Linked DNA regions of Homo sapiens: all the other regions are linked to region 4. Evidence: promoter capture Hi-C in 16 types of primary human blood cells and fetal thymus (Javierre and others, 2016). All regions are on one chromosome and are shown on one strand. The core of a region is centred on a gene start or on the middle of the fragment in contact, and the rest is flanking DNA. Distances in the headings are between cores, read along the strand shown. Region 1 has its middle 57 kb from the start of SAMD13. Region 2 has its middle 5.5 kb from the start of LINC01555. Region 3 has its middle 31 kb from the start of SSX2IP. Region 4 holds the start of RPF1 (ribosome production factor 1 homolog). Region 5 has its middle 3.0 kb from the start of LINC01461.

The links. Contacts are between HindIII fragments. The CHiCAGO score rates a contact against its expected background, and 5 or more counts as called.
Region 1: a contact is called between a fragment that was not itself captured here and the fragment with the promoter of RPF1 in region 4, in 1 of 17 cell types (megakaryocytes). The highest score is 5.9, in megakaryocytes.
Region 2: a contact is called between a fragment that was not itself captured here and the fragment with the promoter of RPF1 in region 4, in 3 of 17 cell types (neutrophils, megakaryocytes and M1 macrophages). The highest score is 6.7, in neutrophils.
Region 3: a contact is called between a fragment that was not itself captured here and the fragment with the promoter of RPF1 in region 4, in 2 of 17 cell types (megakaryocytes and fetal thymus). The highest score is 5.7, in megakaryocytes.
Region 5: a fragment that was not itself captured here is called in contact with the fragment with the promoter of RPF1 in region 4 in 17 of 17 cell types (neutrophils, megakaryocytes, naive B cells and 14 more); the score reaches 16.3 in neutrophils.

The regions. Positions count from the first base shown.
Region 1 is chr1:84,243,408-84,246,107 of GRCh38, forward strand. It overlaps the pseudogene NEDD8P1. Among named protein-coding and RNA genes, the nearest start is that of SAMD13, 57 kb to the right of the region's middle. The HindIII fragment of the contact is 2,620 bases long and covers 91-2,700 here.
Region 2 is chr1:84,639,169-84,641,955 of GRCh38, forward strand. No RefSeq gene overlaps it. Among named protein-coding and RNA genes, the nearest start is that of LINC01555, 5.5 kb to the left of the region's middle. The HindIII fragment of the contact is 2,281 bases long and covers 142-2,422 here.
Region 3 is chr1:84,720,008-84,722,707 of GRCh38, forward strand. No RefSeq gene overlaps it. Among named protein-coding and RNA genes, the nearest start is that of SSX2IP, 31 kb to the left of the region's middle. The HindIII fragment of the contact is 2,886 bases long and covers 1-2,700 here.
Region 4 is chr1:84,477,929-84,480,628 of GRCh38, forward strand. RPF1 (ribosome production factor 1 homolog) reads left to right here and starts at 1,338. Exons shown (of 9, transcript NM_025065.7): 1 at 1,338-1,581. The coding sequence starts at 1,354. RefSeq lists enhancers at 999-1,559, 1,755-1,914. The HindIII fragment of the contact is 6,088 bases long and covers 1-2,700 here.
Region 5 is chr1:84,622,628-84,625,359 of GRCh38, forward strand. No RefSeq gene overlaps it. Among named protein-coding and RNA genes, the nearest start is that of LINC01461, 3.0 kb to the left of the region's middle. The HindIII fragment of the contact is 1,531 bases long and covers 564-2,094 here.

The DNA of each region.
Region 1 (2,700 bases), core at 151-2,650, 230 kb before region 4:
AAAGGCACAAAGCAGACACCTTTAAATATCAAAAAGAAAAATTATAGAAAACCAAATGAAGAATGTAGTAATATAGAAGCAGTGATGTAAAGCTTGTGGTAAACTCTGAATCTGTCTTAATGTAGTTCTAATTATAAGCACCTATGATGATTACAATCATAGAACTGAATGTAAATGTTTTAAACCTTGGCAAACTTAGAATAATATAACTAACAAAGTTGGAAGGTAGAGAAAGAAAGAAGTGAGAGAAGGTAGAAAACTTCTAACATCCATACATTTTATAGCAGGATGTCAATTAATGGAGTCTAAAATTGAAGTGGATTAAATAAGATAATAACTCTAACCTCTCAATTTTTTCTTTATGGTTTTGTAATTTTTTTGTGAGGAAGGAACATATATAAACAGTTTTCATTTTCCCTTCAACTTCTTTTCCTTGCGTTAAATTTATTTTCATTTCAGTTTTTTCTAGTGAATTAGATTTTGTAATATAGACAAAATTAAACTGAACACTTTATATTAAAAAGTATAAGCCAGGCGCCAGTGGCTCACGCCTGTAATCCCAGCAGGTTGGGAAGCCAAGGCGGGTGGATCACAAGGCCAAGAGATCGAGACCATCCTGGCCAACACTGTGAAACCCTGTCTCTACTAAAAATACAAAAATTAGCTGGGCTTGGTGGTGTGCACCTGTAGTCCCAGCTACTCAAGAGGCTGAGGCAGGAGAATCACTTGTACCTGGGAAGTGGATGTTGCAGTGAGCTGAGACCACGCCACTGCACTCCAGCCTGGGCAACAGTGTGAGACTCTGTCTCAAAAAAAAAAAGTATAATACAATTTTATAAAATCAGTGCTATCTGGAAGAGCAGCAGTGGCGACCGGAGTGGTAGGAGCAGCAATTTATCCGTGTGCAGCCCCAAACTGGAAAGAAGATGCTAATTAAAGTGAAGACACTAACTGGAAAGGAGACTGAGATTGATATTGAACCTACAGACAAGGTGGAGTGAATCAAGGAGCATGTGGAGGAGAAAGAGGGAATCCCTCCACAACAGCAGAGGCTCATCTACAGTGGCAAACATGAATGATGAGAAGACAGCAGCTGATTACAAGATTTTAGGTGGTTCAGTCCTTCACCTGGTGTTGGCTCTGAGAGGAGGAGGTGGTCTTAGGCAGTGATGGACCCTCCATTTTACCTCCCTACCCTGTCGCTCGTAATGAGGCATCATATATCCTCTCACTCTCTGGGACACCAGAGCCACTGCCCCCTCCCTTGGATGCCCAGTAATGTATGTCTACTGGTGGGAGACTGTGAGGACACCAGGATTCAGTATTCCTGGCCCAGAGGGCCCTTGCTGACTATTGGATGTTAGTTTGGAGTCCTGTGTGCTTCTCTCTCTTATGGCTGTGTCCCTGGTTGTCAATAAAATATTTCCTGGCCTCCTGGAAAAAAAAAAAAAATTAGTGCTATCTAGTTAGGTACCTCTCTACCTCTCTACCCTTCTGTCTCAATATGTGCACCGAGAATAGTGTAATAATGTTATCAATGGTATGAGATTTGAGGTTATTTCCTAATTCTTCCCTTATACCTTGTTGAGTTGTTTGCATTCTTTGTAATGATAAAGTAATTAATCAAAGATAAAAATAAACACGCCCAATAACAGAGCATTGATTTAATACATTTTTTTTAGATCATCAATCTTGTAAGAGTCCTACTCTTAACAAGCCATTTTCACCAGAGTTCAGTCTTAAGAAATCTTGATTCTTTAATTTCTTTTTTTTTTTTTTTTTTTTTTTTTGAGACAGAGTCTCGCTCTGTCACCCAGGCTGGAGTGCAGTGGTACAATTTCGGCTCACTGCAACCTCGTACTCCCAGGATCAATTGATTCTCCTGCCTCAGCCTCCCAAGTAGCTGGGATTACAGGCATATGCCAACACTCCTGGCTAATTTTTTTGTATTTTTAATAGAGATGGGGTTTCACCATGTTGGCCAGGCTGGTTTCGAACTCCTGACCTCAGGTGATCCATCCTCCTCAGCGTCCCTAAATGCTAAGGTTGCAAGCGTGAGCCACCGCACCCAGCCTGATCCTTTAATTTCAAGATGGAAAATGTGATACTACATCATCAATATGCTTTTGTGCAAGCCACCAGATGTCACTAAAATGGCTTCTCTAGCATTATTATTGCCATGAAGAAATGTTTCCTCTCATTCTTCATATCTCAAACTCGTGAGAACCCTTTCTTTTAACAGCCAGACCACCGTCATGTGAGGGAAAAAAAAAACCCTCTTATCTTCACTGCCAATTTCTTCACCACAATATGCTAAAAACACGTAATCAACACAACCAACTTTTTATTAAAGTTTTTACTATTTTTTAAATAGTGAGTCAAAGTCAGGAAGCACATGGCTGAGTTGGACTGTTTTCTGTCAATAAATCATGTGGTTAATTGGACATCCAAAAAAAAGCCTCTTTTATTCAAGTAGCAATGTCCTTCTTTGTCACTTACTTATCTGTTGATAACCTTATTCCTGTTTATACCATGGTTCAGAAAATAATCACTAACCAAACAGAAGTTTTTTTCCATGTGATAAAAAGCTGCTGAGTGTTTTTCCTTCATATATCACCAGCTCCTAAAATCCAATTCAGAATCTACTCATCAGCCATCTTACCTAGCTTTAAGGTAAAAATACATTGCTCTAGATTATAT
Region 2 (2,787 bases), core at 32-2,531, 160 kb after region 4:
ATATGTCAACTGCATTGAGACAAACTTGTCCTTTTTTACATGGTGTTTATGAGTGTTATAGGAAAGCTGACTATATTAGGTTAGACCACAACTTGATTCCATCTTTTAGAAACTATACCTGAGGCATGAATTAAAGGAAGAAGCTTTGTAGGGATTAGGGTTTGTGAACCCAAAAATATCTGAGATAGGTATCAATTTAGAAAGTTTATTTTGCCAAAGTTAAGGACAGGCCCATGACATAGCTTCAGGAGGTCCTGATGACATGTGCCCAAAGTGGTCTGGGTGTGACTTGCTTTTACACTTTTTAAGAAGACATAATACATTCAATCAATACCTGTAAGATGTACATTGGTTCAATCTGGAAAGGTGGGACAACTTGAAGCAGTGGCTTCCAGGTTAGAGGTAGATTTAAAAATTTTCTGATTGGCAATTTGTTGAATGAGTTAGTTTATTTTATTCTATTTTATTTTATTTTTGAGACGGAGTCTCTCTGTCACCCAGGCTGGAGTGCAATGGCGCGATCTCAGCTCACTGCAACGTCCGCCTCCTGGGTTCAAGCGATTCTCCTGCCTCAGCCTCCTGAGTAGCTGAGATTACAGGCACGCAACACCATGCCCAGCTAATTTTTGTATTTTTTTTAGTAGAGATGGAGTTTCACCATGTTGGTCAGGCTGGTCTCAAACTCCTGACATCGTGATCCACCCACCTCAGCCTCCCGAAGTGCTAGGATTACAGGCGTGAGCCACCACGCCTAGCCTGAATGAGTTATTATCTAAAGACTTGGAATCAGTACAAAGAAATGTATGGGTTATGATGATAAGCGGCTGTGGAAACCAAAGTTTTATCATAGAGCCTCCAGGTAACAGCCTTCAGGGAGCATAGGTTGTAAATGTCTCTTATAAGACTTAAGGTCTGTGTTGATATTAATGCTGGTTAACTTTTCCTGAATTCCAAGAGGAAGGAGGGTATAATCAGGCATGTCTCACCCTTCCTTCCCATCGTGGCCTGAACTAGTTTTTCAGGTTAACTTTGGAATGCCCTTGGCTGAGAGAAGGGACCCAAATAGTTGGGGGGCCTTAGGATTTTATTTTGGGTTTACAGGTTCAACAATCAAAACTCAAGTCAGAGTTATGCTTACTTGGACAGGGCTTCCATTATACACAGGGTGATCATTTGTCCCAATTTCCACTGTGGTACAGGCCTAATCATGAATAGCTCCCCATTTCACTATCAAAAGTTTGAGTCAACAGGAATGTGCACCTCCAGATTTTGGGAAACCACACCACAAGCAACTGTGTCTCTGATGTACACCCCTTTCTGGCCCTCACTGCCAAGGCCAGAACCTGCCTCTGAGATTTACCATAGTCTTTTCGTTCCTTATCAAAGAATTTCAATTAAAAGCATTTATGAGGCCAGGCGTGGCAGCACATGCCTGTAATCCCAGCACTTTGGGAGGCTGAGGCAGGCAGATCACTTGAGGTCAGGAGTTTGAGACCAGCCTTGCCAACATGGAGAAACCCTGTATCTACTAAAAATACAAAAATTAGCTGGGCATGGTGGTGCATGCATGAAATCCCAGTTACTTGGGAGGCTGAGGCAGAAGAATTGCTTGAACACCGGAGGCAGAGGTTGCAGTAAGCTGAGATCACGCCGCTGCACTCCAGCCTGGGCAACAGAGTAAGACTCTGTCTCAACAACAACAAAAAGCATTTATGAGTTGTTTCCTCAGATATTTGCCCTTGATAAAAATGAAGACAAGTGCTTTGGAAATAAAAAGGCAATGTGATTTTTAAAATTCCAGTTAAAATTTTTCATGGTTTAAGATCAAAATAGCTTCTTTAGAACATATGTACCAAGGCTTTGTGTGGCTAGTTGTTGGATTTCTAGTTTTCTTTGGGGCATTAACACAGAATCTGAAAAACTATTTGTTTGGAAAAGTTTAATTTCACTGAGATCTAATTTATAGAGATTTTCCTTATTTATTTATTTTTTATTTATTTATTTTTGAGACGAAGTCTTGCTCTTGTCCCCCAGGCTGGAGTACAATGGCGTGATCTAGGCTCACTGCAACCTACCCCTCCCGGGTTCAAGCAATTCTTCTGCCTCAGCCTCCCGAGTTGCTGGGATTACAGGCGCCTGCCACCACGCCCGGCTAATTTTTGTATTTTTAGTAGAGATGGGGTTTCACCATGTTGGCCAGGCTGGTTTCAAACTCCTGACCTCAGGTGATCTGCCTGCATTGGTCTCTCAAAGTGTTGGGATTACAGCCGTGAGCCACCACACCCAGCCTTCCTTATTATTTAATACCTCTTTGCTTAAAAGGAATAACATTACAAAACCAAATCAACTAGTTATTAAGGTAAAAGATTTTCAAGATAAAAGAAACTAAAAGTGGCTAGAAATTAAATTGATATTCCACAAAAGCTTTATACTATTGGGTGACTATTTGAAAATTGCATTTCGTTGAGCCTCTTCACTAATTAAAAATGTGAAATACAAGTTTAGTTTGAAATAATAGTTCTGGGCTGAGAATTACAGAAGAAAAAAATCTCAAGGTAGGGTAAATAAATTACAGCATGTTTTAGTCAAGTAAAAACTATACTTACAGGTTAACAAAACCAGCCATAGTAGTCATGGCTAAGCACTAGCAGTCTAATCCTAGGGAACTCAGCTGTCTGATCCTATGCCTGGCTGGGATGAACAATTGACCACCTCGGTTTAGACATCATACATAATAGAAAATTGGATCCAAAAGCCAGAATGGAGGGTAGGTTCTTGTTATCAGTT
Region 3 (2,700 bases), core at 37-2,536, 240 kb after region 4:
TTTAGTTCTGGATTGTCCCATCCTGCTGCACATTTGGATCTCATGTCATGCTAGGAGTTGCATTCATTTTTCCATTCATGCATTCACTAAATATTTAGTGAGTGTGTGTTAGGACTGTGCTGAGAACTCACAGTCACAACTAAGCATGTGGCAGTTTGCTTCTTCTTAAATATATTTTGGGCTTGTTTCCCAATCCAACTTGACCAGTCTATGGAAACAAATTTGAAAAACCATTAAACTATTAAATGCTCTGGCCAGAAACATTAATTATTACGGGCTAAGAAATGTGTCATCAGAAAACATGTGATTAAGAAAAAAAAGCATTAATAGTGGCTTTCAGCCGAACAGGCAGAGAGTGGAATGAAAAGGCCTTTTATTAATGTGTAACTGTGCGAATGAAGCACGGTGGTGAGAGTGCTTTGTGCCATCTGAGTATCAGGTTAAATGCCACTGCATTATTACTGGTCTAATGAATTTTAAAAGTATCATTCTAAAGCAAATCTAGTGAGCAACAAAGATAAGGAAATTCTGCTGCCACAGCTGAAAACATTGCCACCACCAAGGCACTTTCTAAACCAGCATATGCTCAGAATGGATTACACTTTGCACCCATTGGAAACTCCCTCCTCAAAACAAACATCTCTTTGAACTTGCAGTTCTTAACCCAAGTTAAAGACTAAGAAAAAAAGCACTAATTGTAATCTAACAGTTCAGGGACCAAAAGGCCAGGTGTTCGCCTTAGTTCACAGTGTCATGCATAGTTCACTGAAAGTTAACTATTCGATGTTACATTTTTTTCTTACATATCCTGTATTTTTTCCTCCAAAATCAAAAGCTGAAACTCTCTTTGTTAAATTTCTATTAATTAGTAATAATTATGGGGCCTACTGCCAGCTGAATCAGATCATTGGCTAAAAAGAAAGGTTCCCTTATAGAAGTTGCTGGGTTGTTTTATTATTTATAGAATAGTTAAGGGGTCAAAGCTATTTCCATATGAAATCTAAATAAAGTGGGTGTTCAGATGAGATCCCATCTGGAGATTAGTGACTTTGAAAACGCAATATATAAAAGAGAAATAAGAAGAAATATCCTTTCTCAAATACTTAACCAGCAGTTACAGTATAAGGATGAACACTTCTATTTAAATCACATTTTGTGATAAAAGCCATGTCTGTGCAAATCTACATGGGAAGTGGTAAAAATGAAGACAGAAACAGTTTCTTCAACTAAGAGCCATAAAATACCTCACTATGGTATTTGTAAGTTATCAGGAACCATGACTCAGTCTGCACCAATAGAAACCAGACTTTCTGATAGAAGAGAGGTTTGCTGACTCAGAGTCTTCTTGTCTCCCTCAAATTAGGCCCTCTGCCTCAAAGTCCCAGGGCTTCATCTACAGATCAAACTGGTAATTCTTAGGTAACACTGAACAAAGGCTTAGTAATAAAGGGTGAGCTAATTATAGCCTCAAATCCAATGCACGTTATTTGACAAAGGATATTGAAGGATAGTAGGTAGCGCAGAGGGTCAGTAGTGGAGGCTATCCTTGTAGAGTCAGAAGCAAGGCTCAAACCACATGATAGGGGCTACTCTGGAGAAGACCTCATAGCTCATACTAATAGGGATAGGACTAGATGCCAAGAACTCTGCCGTGACTGCTCTTTAAACATGGGATGTTTCCAACCCCACCTTCACCAATAGATCCTTTCTTCACTGTACCTACATTTCATTTTACTCACTTCTAAATAAGAGGTATGCACAGTGTGAACCCCAAATATCTGAGGTAGGTCTCAGTCAATTTTAGGAAGTTTATTTACCAAGGTTCAGAATGCGCCCATGACACAGCCTCAGGAGATCCTGACAACATGTGCCCAAGGTCGGGGCACAGCTTGGTTTTACACATTTTAGGGAGACATGAGACATCAATCAATATATGTAAGATGTACATTGGTTCAGACCAGAAAGGTGGGAAAATCGAAGTGGGGAGGGGGCTTCCAGGTCATAGGTAGATAAGAGACAAATGGTTGCATTCTTTTGAGTTTCTGATTAGCCTCTTCAAAGGAAGCAATCAGATATGTGTTTATCTCAGTGAGCAGAAGGGATGACTTTTGAGTTCTGTCTGTCTTTTGTCAGCAAGGAAGTTCCTTGTGAACTAATTGTGAGGGAGGTCTGTAGCTTTTTTATCTTAGTAGCTATCTTTATTAGGGTTAGAATGGGAGGCAGGTTTGCCCTAAGCAGTTCCAGCTTGACTCTTCCCTTTGGCTTAGTGATTTTGGGGTCCCAAGATTTATTTTCCTTTCATAGCAGATAGGGCTGAATCAGGGTCACATGCCTGTACCCTAGCTGCAAGGAAGAATAATTTGAGGAAGAGGAAATCAGTATGGAAATTCTACAAACAGTGAGTGAAAGGATGCTAGGTGATCACAAACCTGAATAATGCTGACTTTAGTCTACCCCTTGACTGTTCAAAGGTAATATTCAGCTCTCCTTCTATACCAGCATTTCCCAACTCTTCATTTTAAGAGCCAAGAACATGCTCCTCTTCTTTATGTCATACCCTTTTCCTAGCAAGAGTCAGGATTTGATCACAATTACTTCCCCCAATTCATACTCCATTATCCCCTCTTCTCTTGCCACCATTAAATAACCACATGGCTCTCTGTTTTTGTGGGGTTGATAATTCCTCATTGAAACAGTGGT
Region 4 (2,700 bases), core at 88-2,587:
GGTTCAGGCCACTATCATTTCTTCCCTTCTTCCACACACCCTGCCCCTGCATAGGCTCTTCTCAAAAGAAGATTCTGAATGACGCTTTTACTTTATTTTTATTTATTTTTTTGAGAGGGTCTCACCCTCTCACCCAGGCTGGAATGCAGTGGCACCAACATGGCTCATTGCAACCTAGCCTTCCAGGCTCAATGGATCCTACTGCCTCAGCCTCCTGAGTAGCTGGGACCACAGATGTACACCATGCCCAAACAGATATATATATTTTTTTACTTTTTGTAGACATGGGGTCTCACAGTGTTGCCAAAGCTGGTCTTGAACTCCCAGGCTCAAGCAATCCTCCTGCCTTGGCCTCCCAAAGTGCTAAAATTACAGGCATGGGCCACTGCACCAGCCTGATACTTTTAAGATGTTAAGATCATACCATTCTTTTCCTCAAAATTCTATAAGAGATCTTCATCTCACATAAAATAAAAGCCAAAGTCCTTACAAAACTCTACACCACCTGTCCAATCTCAACACTTCTTGCCTTTCCTGGCTTGCTACTGACTAGGAGCATTGGAGCTGGCTGTTTGCTTTGCCAGGACAGCTTTTCTCCTTGATAACCAGCTTTTCTCAGATTAACAGCTCTTCCCTCAGATAACTAGTTTAGCCCATTACCTCCTTCAAACCTTGGCTCAATGTAACGTTTTCAATGAAGCCTACTCTGAGAATCCTATTTAAAATTGCAACGTACTTTGGGAGTCCAGGGCGGACAGATCACCTGAAATCAAGAGTACAAGACCAGCCTGGCCAACATGGTGAAACTCCATCTCTGCAAAAATACAAAAATTAGCCGGGCATGGTGGCACGTGTTTGTAGTCCCAGCTACTCAGGAGGAGGAGTTTGCAGTGATCGGAGATCGTGCCACTGCACTCCAGCCTGGGCATTAAAGCAAGGCTCCGTCTCAAAAAGATGAATGTCTCTTCATCTTCTTTTATCCTGTTCTATTTTTTTTCCATACCATGTCTTACTCTGTAGCTCACCATAATTTATTTGTATGCTCATTTTAGGTTTCCCTCAAGTAAAACGTAAACTAATCCAGGCACGGTTTTTGTTGTTGTTCCATTATTTTGAGGGCTGGGCACATAGATGCGCAAGGAGTGCCCAAACTCATCATCTCACTCTTTATACAGCTGGGCAAACTGCCTAAAGTTTCCTCAAGCCTCAGCTTTACTATTTTCTTGAATGGCTAAAACTCACAAAACACATCTAGCGTCAAAAACTTTGCGACCCCGGAAGTAAAAGGTTAAGGAAGGGGGTCACAGGAGAAGGCTATTTCCGTTTCCGTACGGAAGCAAAGGAGCCAAGACCATGGCGAAAGCCGGGGATAAGAGCAGCAGCAGCGGGAAGAAAAGTCTAAAACGGAAAGCCGCTGCCGAAGAACTTCAGGAGGCTGCAGGCGCTGGGGATGGGGCGACGGAAAACGGGGTCCAACCCCCGAAAGCGGCTGCCTTTCCGCCAGGCTTTAGCATTTCGGAGATTAAAAACAAACAGCGGCGACACTTAATGTTCACGCGGTGGAAACAGCAGCAGCGGAAGGTACGCGAGAGGCGGGGGCTGCCGGGCGCTTGCGCGTTGTTCCTGACGCTTAGGGCGGTCGCGGGGCGCACATCTGTGGTTGTCTGCTGGTCTCAAAAGTGTTCTCTGTGGCTCCGTGGGAAGGGTGGCGTCGCGGCCCACGTGTTCTGGTCCCCTCGCCCTAGTTTGGAGACTCTAGGTTCAGCCTTTTGCCTGAGCGTCAAGGTGGAAGATTATCTTGATAGGCTCTTTCCTGGGACGCTAGATTCACAAGGAAAGCTGTAAGGCCAGTTGGCTTAGTAGTGAAAACTACGCCCTCCTGGCCCAGAAGGCAAAAGTCTCAGCCCTTTGGTCCGTCTAGGTAGCGTTGGTTAATTTGCAGAATCTGAAATGGAGGCAATACGTAATAAATCCAAAATACTGCTTCTCTGATTCCTGCAGGAGCTCCTTACCGAAATTAGTACTGTAAAGTTTCTGGTAATTGTATTTGTTCTTTTCAGCTTTATCCTTATACGTTTCTGGTAGGTAAACAAACTGAAACGTAAAGAGGTTTAAACGACTTGTCAAGGTCGCAGTGCTCATTTCTGGTTAAATTGCAATTGGAAGAAAACGTTTGCTTATTCTTGCACATCGTAGAAGTTCACACAATATTATTATTATGTGTCTGCCTCCTCTTACTGGCCCTTCTGAGGCCCGGGACTGGTTCTTACTCATGTTCAGTGTCAAGGTGCTGTTTCAATACATACAAGGGGCGTTTAACTCATTCTGGTATGCACGTATTGGGGAGGGATGTCCTGGAAGACTTATTGGAGCTATGATTTCTAATCTGAAACCTGGTGGATTGAGGATCAGTAGGTGCTGGGGAAAAAAGAATATTTTTTATTTTGTCAAGCATTCTATCTAGAAATCTCCAGAAGAATATATAGATTGACAATACAAATACAGATAATCTTAAGCCACCTTGCAAGCTCTTACTAAATTTTAGAAGTATATTTTGATTATAAAATATGTGAATAACTGGTGATGGTTTTATGGAAAACAACCTGAAAACTCAGCTCCCATTCCTATTTTTAGTGCTTTTCAAGAGAAGCAAGCAGCATAACCATGGTCGTCTTTAGGATGCCACCAGTTAGGCAAAAC
Region 5 (2,732 bases), core at 79-2,578, 140 kb after region 4:
TCTCTCTTTCTCTCTCTCTCTCTCTCCCCTTCTTTTCTCCCTGTCTGGTCATCTGCAGCCTGATAGAGGCTGAGGCAGAGAGAAGAGCCTGTAGGAAAAAAACCATCTTTGGTGGTGATGATGATGTGGTGTGTGGAGATACAAAGTCAAATTCTCCAATGTTTCTATCCCCATGAAATGAAGTCTCTAGTGAGATCAACATTGCTCAGCAATGCTTAGTAGAGTATATTTTCCTGTGTGGAAGCATGAGGAAGGGGTGCATTCCCCTTCTGCTTGGTAAAAATAAAGGCATCAGGAAGTATTGGGTTGGTGTAAACGTAATTGCAGTTTTTGCCATTAAAAGTAGTGACCAAAACCGCAATTAATTTTACACCAACCTAATACAAGCCAGCACCTGGGTGACACTGGTAAGACTGGTGGACCATGCCTGGTCTGGCCAGTTTGCGTTTTTAATAGAGTCAGCGAGTGGGGTAGAAAGTCTGCAGTATTCAGTTAAAGGCCCAAGTTCTTCTTAGTCTGCTTATTAGCTATGTGCTTCTGAGTAAATTACCTAACCTCGCTTAAGCTTAGTTTGCTCATCCCAAAAGGAAATAAAAATATTACCTGACAGTTATGTTTCCTGATTGCTGTGGGATTCAAATGAGCTAGAAGGAGGGAAGTTGTTGTCTTGAAGCAGCATTAGTAGATTTTCTAAACTTGGTAGCATTACACCTCCTTACATTTGATTCTCCCAAGCCTGCTGGGTAGCTTGATGGAGGAAACATGACAGAACTTGACTGCACGTAGTGGCAGTAACTCACACTTGCCCAGATTTTGAACTGGAATCATCTTTATTGCAGTTGAAAAACTAGGCTTAGAGAGTTTGAACAACTTGCCCAAAGGAACATATCTTGGCCATGAAAGGGCCAGTACCAGAATGTAGCACCTAAGACTTTTAGATGGTACTTCCACCATCTCCAGTAGAAGATGGGAAAGGAGTGTTCCTTGGGATTGCCCAGGGCATGACTGTCCCCTTGCAAGGGACACAGAGAAATGGGTGGAAGATGTCAGATTCTTAAGTGTTCACTAGTGGGAGGGTGAGCCCATTATTCTCTATGCACTTAGAATCTTTTTCTCTTTAATAATGTTCTTCACATGCCATAACAAAGCTGAATATGCACTTAGAAGTCTTCTGAAAATTTTATAGAGTGAAATTTCAAAATAGACAACTTAATAGGCTGCTTTAATGTTAAATGAGTCACTTAAGATACAAGTTTTCTCTACATTTCTCAGAACTGGTGGGATGATTATCTCTATCAGGGACTGTTTAGAGAGAGATACTCTGACCTGAACCGCTGTAACTATTAATTGACCAGTTTGATGCGCAACACTTTCTGGTGCAGCTTTATTTACCAGTTTCAAAGACTAAGCTCTGAGCTGAGTGGGGACACAGAAGCAGCTGGGTACTTATACTTGACCCCATAGAAGATGGTTATCTAATTCTGACCTGGCTAAGCAACCAGTATGAATTTTTCCATTAAGTCACATAGTTTACATCCTGCCTTGTTCTTTTTTTGGGGGGTGGGGGGTGGGGGGGCGGTGGTTTCCCTCTTGTTGCCCAGGCTGGAGGGCAATGGCGCAATCTCGGCTCACCACAACCTCCGCCTCCCAGGTTCAAGCAATTCTCCTGCCTCAGCCTCCTGAGTAGCTGGGATTACAGGCACCCACCACTACACCTGGCTAAGTTTTTATTTTTAGCAGAGACAGGGTTTCTCCATGTTGGTCAGGCTGATCTCAAACTCCCGACCTCAGGTGATCTGCCTGCCTTGGCCTCCCAAAGAGTTGGGATTACAGGCGTGAGCCACCGTGCCCAGCCACATCTTGCCTTATTCTTATTTGTGCATTTTTTGGCTGTTTAAAAAGTATACACTCAAACATAAGAGAATTGCAACCCTCTTGTTACCCTAATTTGGCCATGTTATCCTAAAGGGCAAGGGCAGAGTCACCCCTTCTAGGATCAAACTGGACTGCAAGGACACCTATCCTCTGCCCCCACCCCCCCACACCCAAATTTCTCTTGGGATACACAATGAGTAAAGAAAGATAGGCCCTCCAAGCTTGAAAATAAGAAGCAGGAACATTTAGAGATGACTTTTGAGGACAGGATAAGGTGAAATACCTCACCTAAAGTCAGAACTTTCACATTAGGATTTATTCGTCTCTTTTGCCCAGGTGCAGAGGATGATAAACAGCTTTCTCACTGCCCGTGCTAAGTGCTCATTGTGTTCAGGGGTGAGTCTTGCAGTCTGTGGCTCCTGTGACTGTGAGCACTGCTCAAGGACCAGTTTGGACACCCAGCCACCGGGAATAGAGCTCAAGCCACCATGCAGTTAATCGCTGTAGCTGAACCAATGTGTCCAGACAAAATGAACTATCTAAGATGATGTTCATGTGCACACAGGCACACACCATGCTGTCCCTGAGGGATAACCCTTTTGCTGTAGGCTTCTTTGAGAACCCCTTTTCCGAGCTACCTTTCTCACTGCAGTTGGTGACAGTGGGGGCACAAGGACATCATGCACATGATCCTGTCCTCAGGGAGAGAAGAAAATGAGGCTCCTAGAGCAAGCCCCGCCAAACTGAGCCAGTGCTAGCTCCGTTTACCCAGATATTAAGTTAAGCCAATTATATAGTACAATAATTCATCTTTTGAAAATTCACTCTCAGCCTTTGGGGAGCTGTGAATAGGATTT